Linked DNA regions of Homo sapiens: region 2 is linked to region 1. Evidence: promoter capture Hi-C in human tissues and cell types (Jung and others, 2019). All regions are on one chromosome and are shown on one strand. The core of a region is centred on a gene start or on the middle of the fragment in contact, and the rest is flanking DNA. Distances in the headings are between cores, read along the strand shown.

Region 1 (4,976 bases), core at 250-2,749:
AGAAAGAGCGCTCGCTGGACTTGGAGTTGGACAACGTAAATTCAAATCTCAGCTCTATCTCTCAGTGGCTGTGTGGACTTGGGACCACATTATCATTCTAAATTTTATCATTTGTGAATTGGGGAATACCATCACTCTCCTCCCAGGGTTGTTGGGAAGATTAAACGGGAATTCAGCCACCAGTATGCCATTTCTGCCCCGGGTGGAAAAGATTCAAAAATAAGACACCAATTGTCAGTAATACAAAGTGGATGGATGCAGTGGTGGACACAAAGCAAACACTGAAGGGGAGACGATGTACGGGGGCAAAAGAAAGAAAAACATTAACAGCTAGGTTGTGACTTGGTGTTGGGTGTGTTTTCACAGAAGGGAGTCGCCAGTCATTCCTATAAAGCAGTCTTCTAAACCAAAGGATAAAGGTGTGGTAGGCTATCTTTTGAAGTGAGCATGTAAAATTCCTGGAAGGAAAAGTAATGAAGAGCTAACGGTTCTTGGAAAGAGGTTCTGAGAAGTGACTGGGATTTATAACAAGATACTCTTTTACGCAGAGTTGTGAAGTGGAAAGAACTAAACTGGAATACCAGCTCCAAGTATGACCTTGGGCAAGTTACTTAACCAATCTAGAGTCTCAATTGCAAAATGCAGATAATACCTCACAGGATTGCTGTAAGATTAAATAAGATAATGGATAGGAAAGCTGTTAATGCGATACAAATAACAGGTATCATTAGGAGTTACATTCTCCACCCACTTACAACATTATATGTCCATGACCTTGGGCGTGATTTCAGCTCTTTGCACCTCGGTTTCCTCATCTATAAAATGGGGAGGATGATACCATCTACCCTATAAACACTCTGAGGATCAAAGGAGACCATAGATGAGACATCAATGCCTTGAAAACCGTACAGTGCTAAACGTATAGAAACTGCCATCGTTGCTGATACATTTGATGCATGTCAAGGGCCGTGTTTATGCAGGGAAGCACGTATTTTTATGCTATACAGGTGAGGAAGCCTCTCATGCATTTATGCATCCAGGAGTGGGGCACGGGGCACAGATGCACATCTACGGATTCCGGGGGTGTGACTTGCACGCTTGAGAGGAGGACCGGAGGTCAAGCTGCTGGGCCAGGAATCAGAGGAGTGGGCGCTACAGTGGGGGTAGTGGGATGCAGGATGCATGGATGGAAAAGGCTGGGGGCACAAACACGCATGCCCAAGCCGGAAACGTTTTCGGGGGAGAGCAATGCGCATCCCCGGAATGAGGGGGGTGGGGAAGGATGCGATGTGCAAGCACGGAGGGCGGCCCGGGGGTGCGATACCGCACGCCCGGGGCCAGGACTCTTTACCTTGTCGCTGTAATCCCTCAGGACCCGCTCGATAGCCCCTGCTTCGCCGGCCCGGACGATGTAGAGGGCGCGCTCCTCATCCATGGCCGCAGGTGCGGGGGAGCCGCGGCCGCTCTGCGCGCCCAAGCCGCTGCCTCCAGGTAAACGCCTCGCGCCCCCGCTCGCTCCTTCCCAGCTTCCTTCCTTCCCTCTTTCCCTCCCTCCGTCCTGCCTCCAACCCGCCAGCCTCCGCCCGGGCCGGCCCGACGTCACCGCCCCTCAACTTTCACCCCGCGACGTCACCGCTCCCCCAGCAACCGGCGCCTCACGGCCGCCCCTGACAAGGCCCAGGACTCGGTCGAGGCCTGGCTAGCGGACCGAGGCGGAGTCAGGCCCAAGGCCCTGCTTGCTCTCCTGCCTCTCCCTCCCTCGGAGAACTGTCCAGTCTTTTAAGGGGGCTTTCACAGACTGAACCGTTCTTCTTTCCTGACCCTCCTCTATGAATCATTCTCAAAGGACTAGAGCAACCCGGCTCTTCCCCGCCCATCTATGAACCAGCCGCTAAATGGACTGCAATTCCCTGCATGCAATGGGGCTATCCCGCTCTTCCATCTAATTTACTGGCGTGCCGAATGGCATGCTGGGATTGGTAGTCATCCAGCCGGAAAGAATTCCCGCCAAGGGCATGCTGGGAACTGTGGTACCGCGAGGGCCGGAAACGGGAGTCTGGCGGCCGCCTGAGGCCAGCGGCGGGGAGACCGTTAGAGGGAGGGTCTAAGCGTCTGCTTCGGTTTTGTTCGTTATGTCGCTGACTGTCCTGCTTCAGTCTCGGCTGGCTGGGCTGGCTGGACTGGCCGACGGTCGCGGAAACTGCCATCCCTTGGTGGGAACTGTCAAGCACGGTTTAATTCCCTTTTCTCATTTAGCGGTTTCGGTCTCGGGAATTCCTTCCACCCTTATTTGCGTTCTTGTTATGTACTCAGCTACAGTAATGTGGGAAATAATTGAAGGCAGTTATCTGGATAAAAGAGGACTCGGCGATTTTCTGCCTTAATACTAATCTCTAGCATGCATCTCGTGCCACCGGGGCTCCAGACTCTCTTAGGTAATTTCCCTATATCCTCTAATTCTCCCAACACAAATTTTTGTGGAAATAAAAAGGAACCCGAATAGTTTCAGTAATTTATCCTAAGTCACACGGCCAGAGAATGGGAAAGTCGAGGTTTGAAACCAGGCCTTTCCCCCCGAAGCGGCCGCTCTACGACCTCCGGGAACTGTAATAATACCGATACAGTAGCGGTGGTGGTGATGACAAAGATTCCCATTGCCCCGGTGGTAATTACGTGTCAGGCACTCTGTTAATACTTCACCTGTGTTAGCTCAATCAATTTCATACACATTCATTCAACAAATATTTGAGAGCCTGTGCTGTGCCCAGGTGCTGTTAAATGCAGTGTGGATACAGTGGGCCCAAAGTAAAGTCCCTGCCTTCATGGAGCTTCCATTCTAGTGAGCACCCATATGAGTTATTCTCATTTTAAGATGAGGAAACTGAGTCTTGGAGAGGTTAGTTGGTTAATTTATCAAAATTGCAGATTTTTGGAAACTGAATTTGAACTCAGAGCCTGTGCTCTTTCTGCTCTCCCAAGCTTTTTTTTGATGGAAAGTGGATGAATTCTCCAAGTAATTTCAAGTTTTCCATTCCAAGCAGCCTTTACCCATAATCATCCTTGATGTCTCCCCTACCAGTCTCTCCCTCTTGAGCTGTGCTGAAGAGGAACTAGAGGGGGCAAAAGTTTATTTATCTAATGATTGAATTTCTTCTATGCTGTGGTAGATATTCTGCTAGATACTGGGAATTCGGAAATAAGAACGAACATGGGACCTGAGTTTATGGAGCTTTTGGTCTTTCTGTATATTATACTTTCCATGCAGCAAACATTTATTGAGCATATTTGAGTCAGGCATTGGGGTAGGTGCTCTGTAATAAATTAAGTCAGAAAGATTTTAATCCATCTCTCCAAAAAGCACATTTTAGTAAGGTCATGGAATAGTTAGCTAATTTTCTAAGCTAATAGTAACATCTTGCAATTGTTTTTAACAGTTTACAGAACTTTTTAATACTTCTAATCTCAATGGATCATTGGGGAAGGTATTGTTCCCACTTTATAGATAAGAAAACAGGGTCAGATGAGTTAAGTAACAAGAACTGGGACAAAAACTGAGAGCTGTTAACAAAGTATTTGGGTGCCTGCTCTGTGTCCAGTACAGAATTAAGTGCTTTGGGGGTATCCATATATTTATTTTTGGAGCAAGGGTCTCCCAGAGACGATATTAAACGAGCACAAAGTATCTTATTTCCGTAGAGATGTTTCTCTTTAGAATTCTTTTAGAAGGTCTCTGACATTTCAGACACATGTCTTTGAAATGTCTGTTTGCCAGAAATAGGCTATGTTTTTAGTCTCCAACTCTGTACTTCTAAAAAGAGATTTAAAAAATGTAAAACGAGATGAATTAATGACTTGGGAAGTTGTACTTTAGTAATTTTAATTAAATGTTCATATTCTGATTTTGTAACTCAAAGGGATCTTTGACTCTAATTCAAGTCATCTTTTGACCACTGACGAGACTCTGGTTCCAGAAAAATTAAGTGGCTTGTCCAAGGTCAATAGCAGACTCTGGGAATGGAGCCTAGACTAGCTGAGTCCTAGGTCACTACATCACTTTACCTCCTTGAATATTAGTTACGGGATACTTTCAGGGACTAGAGACTCTAGTCCTGTTCTGACTTCACTTCCTGGTGATGCTTGAGTGGCATGATAGCAAGGAATTAATATTTAGAGCCTTGGTAATCAAAGCAACAAATATTTTTTCACAAGTCGTTGCTCTTACAAACAGTAATATAGTAATCCTATATATATCTATGGATAGAGATTTTAAATTCTTAAAATATCTCCACATAGATTATTTGATTTAATCCTTACTATAGCTGAAATTGCAAGATCAATAAGAGGCACTATTTTCTTTTTTACAGAGAAAAGGGAAGTTCAGAGTATTGATTAGCTGGCTCATAAGCAAGGAAGTTTGCTAATAAGTGGTATAGTTAAGGGCTAGAAGCACCCTGGGCTCTGATAACATAAAATATTATGGACTTTCAGGTTAGGGCCAATGAAAAAGCCTGCAAATAGATACTAGTCATTTATTTTGGACTTTGATATATCCTGCTGTGGCATTTCCTCTTGCCATGACAATGGGCTAGTTGGAATGTGCCAAACTGAAGGTCTTTAATGAGTACCTGGTGCTAACAGCTTTTAAAATTCAACTGTTATAATATTTTGAATACATTTTCTTTAGAAGAAAGCAGAATTTAAAGCCTTGGCAGTTTGGTCTATTGGCTACAGCTCCAGAACTGGAGTTCAGAGAATTCCACTAATTCAAGATATGACTTGTCACTCAGCAACCACCACCTCACTATGTGAGGCCACTCACTCAGCCTTTCTTGAGGTTTAGAAATTTAGAACTGAAATAATAGCTGGATTGTCCCACAGTGTCCTTAGCTGTTAAACTAAGGGATTGATCCAGATATTATTTCAGTTCTAAATTTTTCAGTTCTAAAATTTTGTGATTCTCGGAAAAACAAAACCAC
Region 2 (4,559 bases), core at 1,448-3,947, 320 kb after region 1:
CATGAAATCAGAATGTTAACCCTTTCTCTCATTTCCCCTTATAAACACACTGGGGTTCATGCACCTGCCTGAAGATGAGTCTTTCAGTCTCCTCGGCTTGTGGACACAGAACTGATGCTACAAAGAGATGTTAAAGTTGGAAAACTCAGGCTTGCTCTACTGCTGAGCTTGAGTGTGGGCTACTGAGCCTCTTTAACTTCTCCTAGGTATCTCTTTTCTCCCCCTGTGAATAGCTAAGGCAGCTTTAAGTCTCTCTCTCTTGCACACGCTTCCATAGTGACACATACACACCACACACACACACTCCGAAGTACCTAAGTGCCATTTCACAGAGTTACACCCTAGGGTATGCAGACACCAAAACTCAGTATTTATTTCCTTTAACTTTTTCTCCATACTCATGTCATTAAATCAATGATGATTTCATTTTGGGGATGAAAATAAGCTATTCAGGCTGGGCGTGGTAGCTCATGCCTGTAATCCCAGCACTTTGCGAGGTCGATGTGGGTGGACTGCTTGAGCTTAGGAGTTCAAGACCAGACTGGGCAACATGACAAAACCATGTCTCTACTAAAAATGCAAAAATTAACGGGGCATGGTAGTCCCAGCTACTTGGGTGGCTGAGGCATGAGAATCGCTTGAGCCCAGGAAGTAGAGGTTGCAGTGAGCTAAGATCATACCACTACACTCCAGCCTGGGCAATAGAGCAAGACCCTGTCTCAAAAAAAAAAAAAAAAGAAGAAAAGAAAAAGAAAATAAACCATTCAAGCAGCAAAAATTACTTGACAATTACTACTGAAAGAAATAGTACATATGTAGGGAATACCTAGTGCAGTGCCATGCTTATTATAGATGCTCAATAAATGTCAAGCAAATTAAATTGAAGAATTCTATTATACTTTTTATGACAGTATGTGCTTAAATCTCTAAAAACTTAAAAAGATTCAGCTGAAAAACAAGTCAAACTGAAACTCATGAACTTTATCAAGGTTGCACTATAAATTGCCAATTGATTTATGTTATTTTAGTGCCAACTAATAAACTGGGCAGGATACCTGGCAATAGATCACTTACTGTTTTAGAAATAAGATTACTACTGCTGGGATTATGGTAAAGTTCACTGACAATAAGTTTGTCCTTTTTTATGAAATCACTTAAAATTTATGTTGAGATTTCAGTTCCAATTGTATACCTTACTCAGCTGGAGACAAGGGTTCAGGCAATGTCCCACCAGGCTGCCAAACATGTCTTCTGAAACCTGAGACACGCATTATTATGCAGCAGGGAAGCATAAATGGCTGCACCTCTAAACAATGGTGAAAGAGACTGGATCCTGCTATAAATTGTGCTACCAGGCCCAGAACATAATTCTCAGGCATTACAACTGACCACTGAATGGATGAACAGCAAAATAGTTTAGCAAATGTTTAGTGCTTATGACATCAAAAAGTTTTCTCTAAAGGCCTTTTAAAGAACTTGTGAGAGTATACATGTACGTGCATTTTTAGCAGCACTGACTATGGGTGTGTAAGTTAAAATGTTAAAATAGAATTTATAAACTATTCTATATCATAAAACTTCAAAATGCTATCAGATTCCCAAATGTTTATAAAAATAATGAATGGCTGACTAACCATTTTGCCAATAAGCAACAGGCAAGCAAATGATAGGGCTTGCCTGTGTGCAGCACACGCTCAAACTTTGATTCCCCTATTAGTATTTTCAGCTTCCTTAAAAAGGGCGTTACATATATATACACACATATAAAATAACACAAGGAGAATATCTATAAGTTGCATTCTACTTCTATTATCCCATTTTGCTGTACTATGGTCTCCAATGATTCCCTTTACTTACTAAGGCATAATCTTTCTAAAAAGCCCTATTTTCTTGATAACAACTTTCTTAAGTCACAAGCTGGCACTACAAGGTAAACAAATGTAAGTTAAAATATTGAAAAAGTGCTCTTTTATAAGGCAGCATGAAAAAGCTTGGTAAGGAAGGATGTAAACAGCTTAGAAAATGTATGCTGAAAAAATTAAAATGAAGTTTTATGCATTTAGCTATTTTTTCCTATCTTCCTTTGCCAAATTTCCTCCCCTCTCCTTCCCTCCCCTCTCCTCCCCCCCCGCCTTTTTTTAAATAACAGAGTCTCACTCCATCACCCAGGCTGGAGTGCAGTGTTACAATCTCGACTCACTGCAACCTCTGCCTCCTGGGTTCAACTGATTCTTGTGCCTCAGCCACCCGAGTAGCTGGAATTACAGACTTGCACCACCACACTCAGCTAATTTTTGTATTTTTAATAGAGATGGGGTTTCACCATGTTGGCCAGGTGAACTCCTCAACCTCAAGTGATCCGCCTGCCTCAGCCTCCCAAAGTGCTGAAATTACAGGCATGAACCACAGTACCTGGCCTCAATTTTCTTTTAAATCAACATTATTGAATACAATAAACTTCATCCATTTAAAGTGTACAAATTAATGAGTTCTGATATACATATATCAGAACTTTTTATCAAGGTTGCACTATAAATTGCCTGTGAAACCACCACTATAGTCAAGATTCAGAACATTCCTAACCCCCAAAAGATCCCTCCCTTTGTTCCTCACCTCAGGGACCACTGATCTGTTCTGTATTGTTACAGATTAGTTTGCATTTTCTAGAATTTTATATAAATGGAGTTATACAGTATCTGCTTATTTAGCATAATGATCCTGAGATTTATGCATATGGTTGAATATTATGCTTCATTCTTTTTATGGCTTAGTATTGTATAAATATACACTTCGTTTATCCATTCACCTGCTGATGAATATTTGCATCGTTTCGCAGTTTTTGGCTACTGTGAATAAAACTGCTATAAACATTCATGTACAAGTCTTTGTATGTTTTTTCATTACTTGGGTAAATATTTAATACCTAGGAATGCAATTTCTGGGTTGTTTGGCAAGGGTATAGTTAACTTTAAGAACATTCCAAAGAATTTTCCAGAGTGATTATACCACTTTACATTTCCACCAGCAGTATATGAGCATTCTGGTTGCTCCACATCCTCACCAACACTTAGTAGGTCAGTCTTTTTAATTTTAATCATTCTGAGTGTGTAGTAGTATCTTATAGGGGTCTTAATTTGCATTTACCTGATAACTAATAATGCTGAACACAGTTTCATGTGCTTATTTGGTCATGCCAAAACTTTGTGAAGTGCTTGGTTTTTGTTTTTATTTTGTCCATCTTTTAATTGGGTTGTCTTACTATTGAAGTGTTCTTTATATATACTTGAATACAAATCCTTTATCAGATATATGTATTGCAAATACTTTCTCCCATTCTATGGTTTGCATTTTCATATTCTTAACAGTATCTTTCCAAGAGCAAAAGTTTAATTTTGAGAAGATCAATTTTTATACTTTGTACTCTTTATGTAAGGAAATCTTAGCTCAACTCAAGCTATGAAGGTTTTCACCTAGGTTTCCTTCTTCAAGAGTAACGGTTTTAGCTCTTACATTTAGGGCTATAATATATTTTTTGTTAATTTTCATATGCTATGAGGTAGGAGCTAATGTTCCTTTTTTCCATATAAGTATACAGATATTTATTTTGTTGAAAAGACTTTACTCTCCACTGGATTGCTTTGACACATTCATTGAAAATCAATTGCCCATAAATGTTTGAGTCTATTTCTGGACTCTTGATGCCAATTCCATTGACCTATATGTCTACCCTTCTGTCAACATCATACTGTATTACTGTAGCTTTATAGTAAATCAAAATCAGGTTGTATAAATCCTCCAACTTATTCTTTGTTTCAAAATTCTTTTCAAAAATCTACCCCTGATTCCTTAATGATTTTAATATTCTCAGAGATTCATTCATTCATTCATTTTTGAAACATGACTTACTATATTCCCTACTAAGCCGGCACTATGCTAGACACAAAGGATATACAGTTGACCCTTGAACATGGATTTGAACTGCGAGGGCTCACTCATATATGGATTTTCTTTTGCCTTTACTACCCCTGAGACAGCAAGACCAATCTCTCCCTTCCTCTACACCTCAGCCTACTCAGTGTGAAGATGACGAGGATAAAGACCTTTATGATAATCCATTTCCACTTAAAGAACAATAAATATATTTTCTCTTCCTTATCATTTCCTTAATAACATTTTCTTTTATCTAGCTTATTTGAATTGTAAGAATATAGTATATAACACATATCACATACAAAATAAGTGTTAATTGACTGTTATTGGTAAGGCTTCCAGTCAACAGTAGGCTATTAGTAGTTAGCTTTAGGGGAGTCAAAAGTTATACACAGATTTTCAACTGTGAGAGGAGTTGGTGCTCCTAACCTCTGTGTTGTTCAAGAGTCAACTGCAGCACAGGTTGAGCATCCTTAGTCAAAAATCCAAAGTCCAAAATGCTCCTAAACCAGAAACTTTTTGAGCGCCAACATGCCGCCACAAGTGGAAAACTCCACACCTGACCTCAGGTGATGGGTTGTAGTCAAAACTTAGTCAAACTTTGCTTCATGTACAAAATTATTAAAAAT

Evidence for each region. Contacts are between HindIII fragments. The study calls those that stand out against the background at their distance.
Region 2: a fragment that was not itself captured here is called in contact with the fragment with the promoter of RIC8B in region 1 in 1 of the 25 tissues and cell types used here (IMR-90 fibroblasts).

What each region holds. Positions count from the first base shown.
Region 1 is chr12:106,771,205-106,776,180 of GRCh38, reverse strand. It overlaps RIC8B (RIC8 guanine nucleotide exchange factor B), which reads right to left and starts at 1,499. Exons shown (of 10, transcript NM_001330145.2): 1 at 1,352-1,499. The coding sequence starts at 1,435. LOC100287944 (a long non-coding RNA gene) reads left to right here and starts at 1,350. Exons shown (of 4, transcript NR_040246.1): 1 at 1,350-1,491. RefSeq lists enhancers at 979-1,028, 1,799-2,350 and a silencer at 1,359-1,588. The HindIII fragment of the contact is 14,135 bases long and covers 1-4,064 here.
Region 2 is chr12:106,449,205-106,453,763 of GRCh38, reverse strand. All of the region lies in intron 19 of POLR3B (RNA polymerase III subunit B), which reads right to left. Among named protein-coding and RNA genes, the nearest start is that of POLR3B, 94 kb to the right of the region's middle. The HindIII fragment of the contact is 7,589 bases long and covers 1-4,559 here.